Regions from separate parts of the Homo sapiens genome. Here regions 2, 3, 4 and 5 are each linked to region 1. The links are contacts of gene promoters, found by promoter capture Hi-C in blood cells and fetal thymus (Javierre and others, 2016). All regions are on one chromosome and are shown on one strand. The core of a region is centred on a gene start or on the middle of the fragment in contact, and the rest is flanking DNA. Distances in the headings are between cores, read along the strand shown. Region 1 holds the start of NAF1 (nuclear assembly factor 1 ribonucleoprotein). Region 2 overlaps MARCHF1 (membrane associated ring-CH-type finger 1). Region 3 overlaps MARCHF1 (membrane associated ring-CH-type finger 1). Region 4 overlaps MARCHF1 (membrane associated ring-CH-type finger 1). Region 5 overlaps MARCHF1 (membrane associated ring-CH-type finger 1).

Evidence for each region. Contacts are between HindIII fragments. The CHiCAGO score rates a contact against its expected background, and 5 or more counts as called.
Region 2: a fragment that was not itself captured here is called in contact with the fragment with the promoter of NAF1 in region 1 in 1 of 17 cell types (total B cells); the score reaches 5.9 in total B cells.
Region 3: a fragment that was not itself captured here is called in contact with the fragment with the promoter of NAF1 in region 1 in 1 of 17 cell types (naive B cells); the score reaches 5.4 in naive B cells.
Region 4: a fragment that was not itself captured here is called in contact with the fragment with the promoter of NAF1 in region 1 in 2 of 17 cell types (fetal thymus and non-activated CD4 T cells); the score reaches 6.2 in fetal thymus.
Region 5: a contact is called between a fragment that was not itself captured here and the fragment with the promoter of NAF1 in region 1, in 1 of 17 cell types (fetal thymus). The highest score is 5.6, in fetal thymus.

What each region holds. Positions count from the first base shown.
Region 1 is chr4:163,165,281-163,168,364 of GRCh38, forward strand. It overlaps NAF1 (nuclear assembly factor 1 ribonucleoprotein), which reads right to left and starts at 1,610. Exons shown (of 8, transcript NM_138386.3): 1 at 1,083-1,610. The coding sequence starts at 1,447. RefSeq lists enhancers at 755-1,622, 1,114-1,193, 1,224-1,343, 1,364-1,563. The HindIII fragment of the contact is 3,845 bases long and covers 1-2,757 here.
Region 2 is chr4:163,661,704-163,664,787 of GRCh38, forward strand. All of the region lies in intron 5 of MARCHF1 (membrane associated ring-CH-type finger 1), which reads right to left. Among named protein-coding and RNA genes, the nearest start is that of TMA16, 170 kb to the left of the region's middle. RefSeq lists a silencer at 1,856-1,905 and an enhancer at 2,516-2,595. The HindIII fragment of the contact is 468 bases long and covers 1,435-1,902 here.
Region 3 is chr4:163,592,389-163,595,472 of GRCh38, forward strand. The region is part of intron 7 of MARCHF1 (membrane associated ring-CH-type finger 1); the gene reads right to left. Among named protein-coding and RNA genes, the nearest start is that of TMA16, 99 kb to the left of the region's middle. The HindIII fragment of the contact is 4,571 bases long and covers 1-3,084 here.
Region 4 is chr4:163,549,628-163,552,711 of GRCh38, forward strand. All of the region lies in intron 8 of MARCHF1 (membrane associated ring-CH-type finger 1), which reads right to left. Among named protein-coding and RNA genes, the nearest start is that of TMA16, 56 kb to the left of the region's middle. RefSeq lists enhancers at 26-527, 528-1,027. The HindIII fragment of the contact is 8,219 bases long and covers 1-3,084 here.
Region 5 is chr4:163,522,269-163,525,352 of GRCh38, forward strand. MARCHF1 (membrane associated ring-CH-type finger 1) reads right to left here. Exons shown (of 10, transcript NM_001394959.1): 10 at 2,450-3,084. Among named protein-coding and RNA genes, the nearest start is that of TMA16, 29 kb to the left of the region's middle. The HindIII fragment of the contact is 3,665 bases long and covers 1-3,084 here.

The DNA.
Region 1 (3,084 bases), core at 360-2,859:
CCCCTTTTGACTTCTTCAAATATTTGGTATCCTCTGCCATCACCCACAGAGTCAGAAGTAGTATCCTGACACTAAGTTGGCCTATTATGACGCCATATCCCTTCTGCTTTCAAAACGTATCCCCAAATCATCTACCATTTACTTTTCTTTGCTAGTAAAATGAGCTCTGAAATCCCACAAGATGATTATACTGCAATCTTAGTACTGCCAAGAAATCCAACCTTGTTTACAGTTGTTACTTCCCCCTCCCAGTACATTTCATACCCTCTCCTTCTACTCAAATCCTTCAGCCTTCTTCACTTCCACTCTCCGCTGATGACTTCCCTGAAAACTAAACTTCTCACCTCCTCAACACGTGTCTATCTTGTTAACCTGTTCAGTACCCCACTCAACACACTCAACTATTTGTAGACAATGTTCAGTGTGGTTTAGTAACATCCCACATGCTGGAGTCCTCTCCAGCCCAGAGATTTCATATTTAAAAGACAGGTGTGGGGGCAAGGGGGAAAGGCTCTCACAAAACGTAAGAAGCATAAGATACTACTAAATAACACTGTTTGGCTACTTTCATAAACACGTGTTCCCTGCAAGGATTCTATAAATTAACGTAATCATCAAGAGCCAGCTTTGAAACACAAAAAATAATACTTTTCCTGATCCCCAATGTATGTGGTTCAAAAAACAAAGCCTAGATGTGATGATAAAAAAAAATCAGATCTGACACAAAACTCAACTATAACCACAAAAGTACAGCCTAAACTGAGTAGTTACGGAAATAACCTAAGATCCTCGGGTTTTCTAAAGTCTAACAAAAAATGATACGATCTATACATAGAACCCTTCAGGCCACCAAATTTAGGAAATAAGTCAGTACTAAGCTCAGATTCACAACGCGACCTGCTTTGAGAGGCAGCGAATAAGGGGCAGTCGGAGCCAATACTTCAACACGTGAGCCCGGAGCACCAACGACCTGCCCACCCTCCAGGGCCCACACAAGCAACCTCTAGGCTCCTAGGCCCCAGCCACCCCCGCCCGTCATACAAGACCTCTCCCCACAGCTCCGGGTCCCTTAGGCACCCGACCTGTCCGAGTCCGAATCCGAGTCCGAGGTCTCCAAGGAGTCCGGCGCCCGCGCAGGCTCTGCGGCTCCTGGGGAGGTGACGCAGTCTCCGCAGGCCGGCGATTCAGCCGGTGGCTGTGGCTGCGGCGCCGGGGTCCCGGCCGCGACGGCGTTCAGAACGGGCTGCAGAGGCTGCTCCCCGGCAGGCTTAACCTCCACGGTCTGCCCAGCGTCCGGGGACCCCTCAAACGACTGTAGCGGCGGCTGTGTCCCTGGCACAGGGGCAGAGCCCGGAGACGGAGCCGCCGGACCTTCCCCAACTCCAAAGTCGGTGCCATTGAATTTCAGAGTTTCCAGCTGAGCGGCGGCGGCCTCCACTACCTCCATCGCACCGCGCCAGAAACCGGGTCGGCCTCAGGATTGGGGCCCCTGGACAAGCTCACGGCTCTCTCCAGAAATAGAAAAACAACTTAGGCAACCGCAGCAACACTGCCTGGGCCCAACTTCCCGCGTTTCTCAGGTAACTACACGCGGAGGAGCCAAAAGACACGCCCCCGCCATTTACGCAGCAACGCTTTCCGAAGAGCGTGTGACGTATGTGGCGCGACGGCGCGACGGCGCTCGCGGGGGCAGGATACATGCGTCATATCTTCGAAAATCAGGATTAGGGGGTCGGGCGCCGTGGCTCACGCTCGTAATCCCAGCACTTTGGGAGACCGAGGTGGGCGGATCACAAGGTCAGGAGTTCACAGACCAGCCTGCCCAACATGGTGAAACCCCATCTCTACTAAAAATACAAAAATTAGCTGGGCATGGTGGCGCGTGCCTGTAATTCCCACTACTTGGGAGGCTGAGGCAGGAGAATCGCTTGAACCCAGCAGGCGGAAGTTGGAGTGAGCCGAGACCGCGCCACTGCACTCCAGCCTGGCGAGAAAGCGAGACTCCGTCTCAAAAAAAAATAATCAGGACTAGGGAGGCCCTAAATCGACCGTTTTCACTGCGTCATGTGAACCATTCAAGGCCTGAATGTCGGATTTTCCTATTGCTGCATGTGAACCAATTCTGCTTGAAGCGCCAAAATGAAGCAGGGATTATACAACAGGGGGGTGCCTGAAGAATGCTAAGTTCTGTACATCAGAAACTTGAGCCAGGAAGTCTTGACAAGACGCTAGTAACTTCATGAAAGTTAAATGAAGTTTATCCATCAATAGATCCATCTGTCGATAGATAGGGTATTAACCATTTTTTCAAAAATGTAACTACAACTATTCCATTTTCCTTTCTCCAAAGTACCCTCAAAGAGAGCAGTAATGGACAAAATTTTGCTGTGTTGTTCATGTTATGGTGATGTCTATATCATACTTAGCACTGTTTCGTAGTAGAGAGATGAGACTATGAGACTGAAATGTACTCACTTATTGTTGGAAACCACTAGTCTAAATTGTGGAGAAAGCAAGCAGAGTTCTTAGGACTGAGGAAGAGATCAGAATTTTCTGGTTTCCTATTAGGTCTTCAGTTTGAGGCATCAGTCCCTGTGTAGTAATAATAATCATTGATACCATTTGTTAAACATGCATATGTGCCAAGGACTGTGCTAAAGATTTTATAAATTATTCACTGAGAATTTAGTGTGTCATCTACAACAGTAGATCTTCATAGAAATGCAAGGCAAGTGTAATAAGAGTAAGGTTTTAAGAAGCTTACAATCTACTTGAAGTAGAGAAGGGCAATGCACAGGAGATAACTAGAAAAATATTTGAAATATGAAATAGAAAATCCAAGTGCAGCAGAAATGGGAAGTAGGATTGGTAGGCTATTTCATGGAAATCCTCCAAAGTGAAGAAGGACTTTAAACTTGGGATACGAACTTACTAGCACAATGATTAAGCAGAGCTCAGAGTTTTCAACTAAAAAGACCTGTGTTCAGGCCTCAGCTCTACCATTTTGTGTTTGGTGTTACTGACTTTGGGCAGTTAATCTAAATCCTAATTTCCTTATCTGTAAAATGGAGATAAAAATACTAT
Region 2 (3,084 bases), core at 419-2,918, 500 kb after region 1:
ACATAGTCAAGTGAGTGAGCGTGTCAATCACCCACAAGTATTTTCTTGCCCATGCAGTGTATCTTCTTTCCTCTCCCTTTTCCCCTTGCAACTGCTGATTTCTTCCTGTTACTTAATACTACAGATTAGTTTGGATTTTCTAGAGTTTTATACAAATCTAATTACATAGCGTAGGACAGACTTTAATTTTTGAAAATATTTTTATGCTATCATGCCATTCAATTGATGGTTGACTGGATATAGAATTCTGGATTGGAAATAACTTTATTTCAAAAATGTGAAGTAATTGCTCCTTTTTAAAAAACAATTCCAGGGTTATGAGAAGTTTGGAGCCATCCTGATTCTTGATTCTTGGAATAAAATCTTTTTTTTCTTCCTTTTTTGGTATGTGTAAGATGTAGCATTTGTTTCCACCATTCATTTTGCTAGGTACACAGTTGGTCCATGATATCTGGAAATTATGTCTTTAAGTTTTTGGATATTTTCTTTAATTATTTCCTTGATAATTTCAAATAATGAAATTTCACATATTGTTTTCTTTGCTGTCTCATCCTGGAACTCTTATTGTTTCTAGTACTGTTTTTATTTCTTATTCATCTTATTTCAAGTATTGTTTTCTTTGTTCTCTCATCCTGGAACTCTTATTATTTGGATGCTTAAACTCCTGAATTAATTCTTAAATTTTCTAACTCTTTCTCTTCTGTTTTCTTTTTGTCATACTTTCTGGAAGTTTTCTTTTCCTTTTTTCCCCCAAACTTCCAAATTATTTTTTATTTCTGCTCTCATATTTGTAATATCCAAGCACATTCCTTTCTAGTCCCAGAATCTTCCCTTTCAGCCCTCTGCGGCTTTAGTTGTCTCTACTTGCTCTAAGTCCGTCTGTTACCATCTCTCTCTGTCTCTGATAGAAATTTTCCTCAAATATCTGTTGATCTCTGGATATTAGTTGTATTACACACTCACTCAAAAGCTGATTAGGTCTATGTGTGTCTCCGGCTAGTGGTGGCTTTCCCTCTAGGGTACTCAGGCCGGATTGTTTTTGGGAAAATTTTCTCAATTCTGCAGCTATTCTTTCTGTTTTGTCAGTTCACTGAGAAAAAAAAAAATCGTACAATCTCTTGTTTGAAGGCACACGCTAAGGCCGGCATTCCGAGGCAAATATGGGAAAGAGGAGTCAAGGTCTTATCACCACTAAGGATGCGACTGTCTGCACTACAGTAACCTCACCCCTTCTTCAGAGAGATTGTGTTTGTTTGCCACGGGTTATTATTGGCCTGGAAAAAAAAAAATGTTTCTTAACTAGGGGATTCCCAGGTCATGCAAACAATACAAATTTAACCTTCTAACTGGAGTGTAATATAAGTCTGTGATTACATTACTCAGAGAATTTGTTTTTTCTTGTATACACAGAATTCAGGCCAAAATAAAAAGTCAAGCTTCTTTTTATCTCTCTGTGTGGATAGTTGGATATTTTTTCCTAGTGGATGCTTACACAGAGACTATAGTATTTTAAATCATCTTTTTTTTTTTTTTTAGATTTAGGGCTGTTTAAGTGTACATCCCACTCAGGCCCATTGCTTTATCTTCTGTTTCTGCCTGGGCACTGACACCCTTGCCACTAGATGATCACAACTGACCACCCCCCAGGGCAGCCACACTGTCAGCTCTCAGGCCAATTTCTCTGGCTTATGTTTCTCTCTTCCTTTCTCACTGCTGGAGATTTTTCTTTTCTTTTTCCTAGCACAGCTGAGTATAAATAAGGACATTTGTTATATTTTTATCTAGCATTTCTATGTTTTTATATTCTGAATGATTTTGGATCATCTCGTCTGCAACATTGCTTGTCTCTAATTGTCTTATTTTCATCTTTGCAATCATGGGTTTTACTGGCAAGGGAGCTGAAGCTTGTGGAGGATAAATGACTAACCCAAGAGTGAGCAATAGGTGGCAGGGCTAAGGCCACGTCTCTCCTGGCGCGGTGCTCTCTCCAACATGCTGTGTCCCCAGATCTCTTCTATGTCTGAAACTTTCTGATTTCAACATAGACTAATATCTATAAGCTCATGCTAATATCTATGATCTCATATTCAGAAGTGAGAATCAAGTATATAAAAATTGATAGAAACTAAAAATCTTTAGGCTTTAATATTAGCCTCTTACTACTAGATTGTTTATCAGAACTTTGAGCTATTAACACAGTTATGTCAAAGCTTTCATGTACTTGAAAAAATGGGGCAGCTAAAAAAAAAAAACTGCCAAAAACATCAAACAGCTGACAAATGCAATCAGCTGTGATACATGAATTTGCATTGTCTAACTGGAGGTTGGACACTGAAAAATAAACCGAGTACTCTCACTACCCTATTTTTCATAGGCAATGGAATCTAAAGGCACTTTCAATGCTGTAAAAGCCTGACAAAATGTTTAAGAAACAAACAGGAAGAAGTTTAAAGCAAAGAACATGTGTAAGACCATCTCTATTTGCCTTTTCCTGAGAAAATAATAAATGTACTCCCACATGTAATTTTCACAGCATATATAATGATTTTGCTGAGAACAGATTGCTCAGTACATTCCCAGATGTATACAGAAGATCAAGTTAATGAAAAGATACTTTGAAATACAGTAACTGGATACTATTTTAAAATAATGTATGCAGTTCATATCAATGATTTTCAAAAAAAATTCTAAGGCAGAGAGGCCCCTTTTTCCAAATTAAACATGACAAAGAATGCTTAAATATAAAAGAGATGAAACTTAAAATGTTTTCTTTGAAGAAATGGAGGAGATTTCCCCAACACCCTAGCCAGTCAGTGCCCCACCTACAGAGAACTCAGCTGCCCTCAGACTTACTTAGGAACAAGCCAGATTCTGTAAGGAGGGGATTTGAATCTAAAAATCATGTTTTAAGTTCCTAACATGCTAGAATAAAGACATTGTATCTGTAGGGTCAATTTATCTAGTGGACACATTATATATAGGGCTTAGGACAGAATAAATCAGCATTATAAATAAACTCTCAAAGATACTCCCCATTTTATTATAAATTTGTCTATAAACATATTAAATTACTTTTTAATAACC
Region 3 (3,084 bases), core at 287-2,786, 430 kb after region 1:
AAACCTCAGACCATCTGCACAGAGCTGTAGGGAATGATCAACAACAAAGACAATGACATGGCAATGTCCCTGGCTTTCCTAACTCTATTCCTGGAGCTGATCCAAGAGTCGCAAGTAATCAGCCACATTTTTTTTTTTTTCACCACCAGACATCACACTGATGGAAAACAGTGGAGAAGAAGATAATGATCACCTTGCTTGGTCAATAATGAAAGCAGAGGAGGCCAAGTCTTATTTGAATTCACAGACATTGAATTCTGCAATGGATTGGGAAGATTCTATTGGAATTGCTTCTCTTGGGTGTCTCATCCCCTCTGGAGATGGTTCGATGCCATTGATACTAGGACTTTAAATTCTGCTTGGGACTGAGGATTCCCACTGAGATTCTATTATCATCTAGCCTAGTGGTTCAGTCTCATAGTGGGCCGGAGCCTCTTTGAAGACTATCTGAGAGGTCTCCATGGGCTCTTGAAACACATTAAGATTCCCCCATTCCCTCTATTGATGTGTGTAGCCCCTAGGAGTCCCAGTCAGTATATCTAGCAATCTTAAGATCAGCTCAGACTGTCCAAATCCTCCAAATCAGGAGAAATCAAAAGCTGGATTGCATCTTTTAGGATAATCCCTTCCCTGTTAACCATCGCTTTACTGCCCTCTCTATACTCATTGGTTAGCTCAGAGGACCATGTATTTCTGCATAAAGGAAATGAGTTCCCCAGTGCCATTTATCTTTCCAGATCCTACCTTACAATTTTGATGACTTGTGGATAAGTAAATAGATAATATATATTGAACGAATATCCGAAGGTTATGATTTTCTCTACATTTGCATATGTCATAAATATTCATTTTATATCAGCTTTGAGGTCTTTTTGGGTGCATTTGTAAGACTGACAAAATTAAACTAGAGATATTTCTAAGCAAATGTGCTTACAGTTATTAGGCTAAATTTTTGTTAGCTGCATACATTGAAGTAAAAAGGCAAAACAAAGGGACAGATAATAAAAACTCATTTGGCTTTAATATGTAGCTATAATCAAAGAAATATATATGGTCAGATACAGGAGAAGGCTTTTGTATATACATAATAACAGCTATCAGAAAAATTATGCAGTTATAACCTTTTAGCCTTTTTCATTTCTGCATGTGGCAGAAATTCTTAATTCAAACTGATTTTCTGATCTTTTTTTTGTGATGGCTAGGTGTTTGAATTTTTCTAAGCTCATCCTCAACCATGACTTCCTTCCAATTTTGTCCACTCATTAATCTTATCTGGCTGAGCATTACATCAAAGAAAGTCTCAAGTTGCCATGGATAATTGACAAAGCAGGCACTTTATTTACAGATAACCAAAAATGCATTGAATTAGAAATACGCCTTTGCATATGAATTCTTCTACAAAGGCAAGTAAGTACAAAATACTGATGTTTTACAGCAGTTCCAACCACATTGAGTGAAGAATGATCAACTTTTATTCATTTATTCACTCATTCATTCATTCATTCAGTCAACAAGTAATTTGTTGCTTATGTATATATGCAAGGTTTTATAAGGTCCTATGGTAAATATAAAGATGAATTAGTCTCAGTCTTTTTCCTTTAAGAAGTTTATATTGACAGTTTATGCATCAGACAACTGCAAAATTAGACAGGATACATTTAAAATGGGATGTGTGCCATGTCAAGTGCTGTTGTATGCAAAGGAGTGAAAGATCATCTCAGATTGGGGACCGGGGGAGGGTAGAAAGTTTAATGGAAGATGTGGCATGGGAATTGGAATTGAAGCTGGGGTAGAATTATGGCAGATGGAGAAGGATGTTGGTAGAATATACTAGGCATAGAAGATGTTTTCAGTCAATGCTTAGAAGTAGGATTGACTGGGTAATTTGGTAACATTATGTGGCCAAGTATGAAAAGAGCATGAAAGTTCTTACTCCAACTAAATACAATATTTAGTATATATTTAGTATATTTATTTAGTATATACAATAATACCACATTATTATTATATGATATAATAATACAATTAATTACTTTAGTAGGGAGATATCATGCTGAAAAATAAAGATTACACAGAGCCTGGTATTTCCCTCAACCAGTGCCAATACACACACACACACAAACACACACACAAACTAACTTTAATTGTATTTAGTTGAGTAGGAACCCACTACATAATTTAAATAAAAAATTAAGATTACATTAAAAAATGAGCAAAGGAGCTAAAAAGACATTTCTCCAAAGAAGACATACAAATGGTCAACAGCTATATAGAAAGGTGTTCAAAATCACTAATCATCAGGGAAATGCAAATCAGAGTCACAGTGAAATGTCACCTCGCACCCATCAGAATGGCTATTATCAAAACACAAACACACACACACACACACACACACACACCCAAACCCAAACAAGATAAATGCTCCTGAGGATGTGAAGAAGTTGGAGCCCTTGTACGCTGTTAGGAATAAAAACGGTGCAGCTGCTATGGAAAACAGTGTGGAGGTTTTTCAAAGAATTAAAAATAGAAATACCATATGAGCGAGCAATCCCACGTCTAAGTATCCAGAAGAATTGAAATCAGGACCTCAGATAGGTATCTGAACTCCCATGTTCATTGCAGCATTATTGACAAGAGTGAAGCTACGGAAACAACCTAAATGTCCATCAACTTATCAATAGAGAAAGAAAATATGGTATAAGCCAGCGAGTGGCTCATGCCTGTAAACTCAGCACTTTGGGAGGCCAAGGCGGGAGGACTGCTTGAGCTCAGTTTGAGAGTGAAGCTACGGAAACAACCTAAATGTCCATCAACTTATCAATAGAGAAAGAAAATATGGTATAAGCCAGTGAGTGGCTCATGCCTGTAAACTCAGCACTTTGGGAGGCCAAGGCAGAAGGACTGCTTGAGCTCAGTTTGAGACCCGCCTGGGTAACACAGTGAGACCCTGTCTTCACTAAAAATAAAATAAAAAAAAAATTAGCGGAGTGTGGTGTCATGTGCCTGTAGTCCCAGCTACTTGGGAGGCTGAGGCAGGAAGATTGCCTAAGCCCGAGAGATTGCAGTTGCAGTGAGCTATGATCA
Region 4 (3,084 bases), core at 226-2,725, 380 kb after region 1:
GGACTTTACAGTCCCTGGGCCTTTGGTGCCTGTTTTACTGTTCTTGCTTTTGATTTTTTTTTTTTTTTTGCAGAAGCCACTAAACAATAGAAAGAAATCCAACAGAACTCTATTATTCACTTAGAAAAATATGACTGTATGTTTTTTCTGAATTGTAGTATAACTTGATGCAAACATTGTTTCTGTGAAATTGTCTATTTGATGAAGTTAAATCAAACTTTGCATGATAGGGTCAGGTTTTCTAATTCAAATTACTTGCATTATATTCTGTCCTAAAATATAAATTTAAAAGTACTGCCCACAGAAAAGTGTTGTTTAAATCTTTATACCAGTGAAGAATAAAGGCAGTTTATTTGTATAACATAAAAATGCAGGCCGGGCGCAGTGGCTCACGCCTGTAATCCCAGCAGTTTGGGAGGCCAAGGCGGGCGGATTGCCTGAGCGCAGGAGTTCGCCACCAACCTGGGCAACACGGTGAAACCCCGTCTCTACTAGAATACAAAAATTATCCAGGCGTGGCGGCGGGCGACTGTAGTCCCAGCTACTCGGAAGGCTGAGGCAAGAGAATCGCTTCAACCCGGGAGGCAGAGATTGCAGTGGGCCGAGATCGCGCCACTGCACTCCAGCCTCGGCGACAGAGCGAGACTCCGTCTCAAAAAAAAAAAAAAAAAAAGAAAAGAAAAGAAAAGAAAAAAGCAGGAGGTAGGGACTACTTTGCCAAATCCATTAAATCCATTTCGTCTTTTTTCTTGACAGTTCACCTATGGTTTCCAGCTTCCGTAACAGTCACGTGACCTAGAGTTTTCAATCTATAGAATGATAGACCAAAAAATTACCACCAGGTGGCGCCAGGCCCAAACAGTAGCTAGTACGGTAGCCCTTTTTTTTTTTTTTTTTGGTACCGCCAGACCCAGGAGCTCCCAGCCGGCCAGGTGTGCAGGTTCTTCCTGTCATTTTGCATAAATGCAAAGCCACATTTTAATTGTTTACTGGCTCTGCCTGTCATATTGGATTTTGCTGCAGACGAGCGAAAATAATACCTGAAACAGCAAGTGTAAAGGTTATCACATTATTTACATGCCTTAGTAAGATATGTTGTGCTGGAGGATAATAAGTAAACCTTTTACAAATCCTTGGACTTGCTATGCTGGAGAAATTTCTAGAGGACCCATTCATATGAAGCAGTGGTTCTCAGTGTTCCCCAGTAGCAGATGCAGCAGCAATCAGGAAACTTGTTAGAAACCCAGTATTTTGAGCCCCACACCAAACTCACGGAATCAGAAACTCTGGCGATGGGGACCCTGTAATGTGCTTTAACAAGCCCTCAGGTGATTCCGATGCAAGCTACAGTTAGAGAACCACCTGCCTAAAGGATGACACTTAGCAGAGTTGCACGGTGACCTCCGTGGAGTTTATATCAGAAGTAGTACTTGTCACTCCCTGTCATGAACTAATTAGTAGTCCAGGAAAGGGTAATCAACAAATGAGTTTTGTTTTCTGGCTGTGATTTAAATATTTCAGGTCGACTGAAAAAAATTACATAATTCATTTATTTGAACTGAAATGATTCAGAGTTAGCTCATTAATCACTAAAGCAAACTTTCATTTTTTGTTTTACTTTTCAAATTAGTGTTTAGGTAACATAAAAGCCTATTAAAATCTAATTATACTAGTAACAATTTCAAATACTCTGGGAGAGAACTAAACAACAGACTCTTAATTATGAGGAGTAACTCTTGAACCTTAATAAATCTTTAAGTTCAGAGGTATGCCTATGGTAAATAATTTCCCTCTTAAAAATGTATTTTAAAAGACCAGCAGAAAAATTTGACCTCTGCAGACCTTTAGTGAAATTTGCTACAAAACTGATGATAGGGAGGAAACAACAAAGCCAGGTAGGTGGTAGGCAGCTGGTAAAGTTCACTAGTTAAGGCACTCACTGTTGGACACAAATCAGGAAGTGTACACAAGTGCAAACTTGTTCTCTCAGAATTACAGTAATATAGTGGCTGTGTCCCCACCTAAATCTCATGTTGAATTGTAGCTCCCATAATTCCCAAATGTTATGAGAAGGACCTGGTAGGAGATAATTGAATCATCAGGATGGCTTCCCCCATACTGTTCTTGTGGTAGTGAATAAGTCTCACGAGATCTGATGGTTTTAGATCATGAGGTCTCTCTCTTGCCTGCTGCCGTGTAAGACATGCCTTTCACTGTCTGCCATGATTGTGAGACCTCCCCAGTCATGTGGAACTATGAGTCCATTAAACCTCTTTTTCTTCATAAATTACCCAGTCTCAGGTATGTCTTTATGAGCAGTGCAAAAAGGGACTAATATAAGTCCCTTTACAGATAAGCATGTACATGAAGGCTTTCTTACTAAGAGTCAAAACCTCAGATATAATAGCCATAAATGCTCTGTGAGTCTATCATTTCCTTAAAAAAACATTTTCTCCCCTAGTTCTCTTCCACGTTAGGTCCACCAGTGATAATCATTTGACATCTTTTGTACATGGCCCAATGTGAGGGGACACTATTTTCTGATTAAGTGCAGCTCCTCTGTCTCTCCTGATAACAGTACAAGAAGGTCTTGTACTGCACCAAAGATTAGGATCTGCAATCCAAAGGAACTGCAAGTGGAAACAGTGAGGAATGGGCCATGTGTCCAGATGGACCTGGGAGATCACCAACCCAAATATAGACAGCAAATTAACAGCTACCATCTTGAGACAGTGTGTGCACGCAGCGGTTTAGAATCGGGGGAAGTAGTTAACTGAGACCCAGGTTTGGGTAAAGATACCACTGCAAGTAATTGGCAGTCTTACTGAAAAACGGTAATAAACAGTTCCACAAAGAGGCATATCTAAGACCCTGAAATCAATGGCTTCATTTTGCTACCACTCAGTTTGAGTCTCCTTTTGCATTCTGAACTGCTGGGTAATGGGAGTCTTTTCTAACTAGAAGTGGTTTTCAGTATTAGCTGTTTGACAGGATCATTTGGGGCATCAAGTTCCCTATAGACACACTCAGGCCTCGTTGAATCCATCACTGAGGAATGAACCGTGCAGCTGTGTGGTGTATTCT
Region 5 (3,084 bases), core at 156-2,655, 360 kb after region 1:
TTTGACCTCACTCTCATTACGCATCATCTGTCTTGTTGAGCTTAGCTTCAAGTTCATAGTTGCTTCCTTGCATATACCCTGAATTCCTTGTCTCTGACTCTAGTTATTTCTCTTTCAGAACCCAAACCAAGTAACAGCTATGTTTCCTTCATGCCTGTTCTCACGCAGCTCAACATCGCTGGAGAATATCAAACAGACCATTTTCATACTGATGTTTGCAAATCTCAAGTGGATTCTCAGTACTGCTTAGTGATCTTATTATGTTCCCCTACTAAGTTCATTTTCTAACTTTGAGATAATTATTTTACTACTTTTTTATATTTTTTTCTAGCTTGACTTGAATACTAGCCTTCTCAATGTTCAGCCCTTGGCTTTTTATACATCTTTGAGAAAATACAAATTACCACTTTCTTTTGATTTAATGGATATATCTTTTTTTTTCCTTTCAAAGGAAAATACTACTTATGTTCTGTTTCCCACTCCTTATTTTCTCAGAAACCTGATTTTTCTAAGTTTTTCACGCAATTTCTCAAGCCAGGAATCTGCCTGTAAAATCATCCTTGATTTTTCACTTTCTCTCTTCTATGCCTTCCCACAATATAATTTAATTAGCGAGTATTTCTGATTCCACTTCCAAAATGAAAATCAAATTGGCCCGTGTCAGGCAGTCTCACTTTTCATCCTTACCAAAGTCGCCATGTCTTGCCTGTCCTATGTGCAGTAGCTTCTTAACTGGCCTTCTTGCCACTGTTCTTGCTCCTGTTGCCAGCACCCTGATGGCCTTGTGTGTGTCCACTTGATCCACAGCTGGGCAGGGTTTTGCTGCGGATGACCTGACTGAGCCTTGGAAGACTGTCCTATAATCTTCCCAGAGCATGGGGATATGGAGGATATCATTTGCCTCCTGATCTTCTGGGAAGGAGATAGTGAGACAATTTGTCATCACCTGGGTTCTGATGAACTCTGAGACTCTACCTCGAGTCACTGTAGCATAGAGCTGCAGCCTATAAAACTAATGACTCAAGATTGGTGCAAAAGTAATTGCAGTTTTTGTCATTTTTTTTTTTAAAAGTACTTTTAATGGCAAAAACCGCAATTACTTTTGCACCAATCTAATATAATACTTAGCTGCAGCATGGACTCAGCATCTCAGCAACAGAGTGTCCTTCCCCTTATGTAGCACTACCAGTTCATCTGGCCCTTTTCTGTTTGTGTCTTTCTGTAGGACAAGACATACGGGAAGGCCGCACCTTTGCATCTTACTGTCTGTGTAAGTACAGTTGACCCTCCCTATCTAAGGGTTCTGCATCCTTGGATCCAACCAACCACAGATGAAAAATAGTCCGAAAAAAAAAAGTATGTACTGAACATGCAGAATTGTTTCTTGTCATTATTCTTTAAACAATACATTGTAACAACTATTTCCATAGTATTAGGTATTATAAGTAATCCAGAAATGATTTTAAGTATACAAGAGGGTATACATAGGTTATATGCAAATACTACACCATTTTTATATCAGGGATTTGAGCATCCATGAATTCTGGTATCTGAAGGAGGTCCTGGGACCAGTCCTCCACACATACTGGGGGGATGACTGTAATAAAACAGTCTTACAAGGGCCTGTTTCTCTACTGGCCGAATCCATCAGCCTTTGCTTGACATTTCCCATTCGGGATTTTGGTACTTACCATTCCCTCTTCCTGCGTTGCCATTCCCCTGAGCTTTTGCAAGGCCAACAATAACTGATTGTTCTCTCTTCCTTTAGGTCTGAGCTTAAAAGTGTTCTCTCTATCTAAAGCATCTCTACCCCCACACCCTTGCTACTCTTGGTTAATCTCTATCACAGCACCCAGTTTAGGATCACTGGACACATAATGACAGTGATTAATGATCTAGGAATGTTTGCTATAATTTCTGGTGGTGAGGGAGGGTGTTAAGTTCAGATTTCCATTTTGGGCAGAGGAGTTGGCTCATATAATTAGCAGACTGGTAGAAAGCCCTGTAGGTCCTTAGAAGTTGGACATTTGGAAACAGCTTTGTTTTTTGCTATCACCAAACCTCTTAGATTCTAATATCTTGCTTTTAATGTTTATTATCCATGCAATTATCTGAATCCACTATTATCTCTGAACAGAAAAATGCTGTTATATGCTTATTTTTCTATATCCAAGACTTATTCTTGAGACAGTCCCGCTTTAGATTACATTGTGATTTCTCTTGAACTCTTTTTTTAAAGCAGGTTTGAAAGTCCACATAGTTTATTTTCATTGGTTTCCCTCTGTTTGTGTATTTATTTATTTGTACCATGTCATGAGTTAGTCAACGTAGGTTTGCTTTAAAATAATTATATGTTCAGACCCTTGTAAAATCTTAAAAAATGTATGTGTGTTTGGATGTTGCAAATACAAATATCAGTCTGTTAGGCAAAAATTGTGGAAACCACAACTAAGGTTTGCGTCACTTGTTTAATATACAAAGTCTTTCACAGATAATTATTTTCTTTTTCTTAATTTGCTTTAGTACACATGATTCACAAAACAGTAAATTGTTAATGCAAGAGAATTATGTAAAACCAAAATAGTACAAATGCCTAATTTCAAAAACTGCACACAGTTAAAATAATTTTTCCTTCTTTGTTTTAATGCAGTATCCAGTTTCAAAATGGGCTTTCTTTAGATGTGGAGGAAACACTGCAGCCCAAAATAACAGTACTTCCTTTCAACTGTGTTGATATGTAAAATAGCACCATTGGGCTGACTTAGGAAAGAAAAAAGGTTTTCATCTTTCTTAATTAAAGTATTATATAACAACTATAATAATAATGATACTAATAACTTTTAAGAGCTGTACTCTGTTCTATAATATTCATTTTCAAGGCAAGGAAGGGTAAACTATATGGGGCAGATAGAAAAATCTTCCCACCTCAGCCCCAGGACCCTTATAATGTCCCTTAATGGTGTCATTGTTCTAATGAGCTAATTTTCCTGCCAAAGAATAGATGTTTTAAAGAGTACCCAAGGACCTTTTGTAAAACAAGATAAAAAACCATGAGGTCGTCTGTCTGGGACTATAATCACGTGT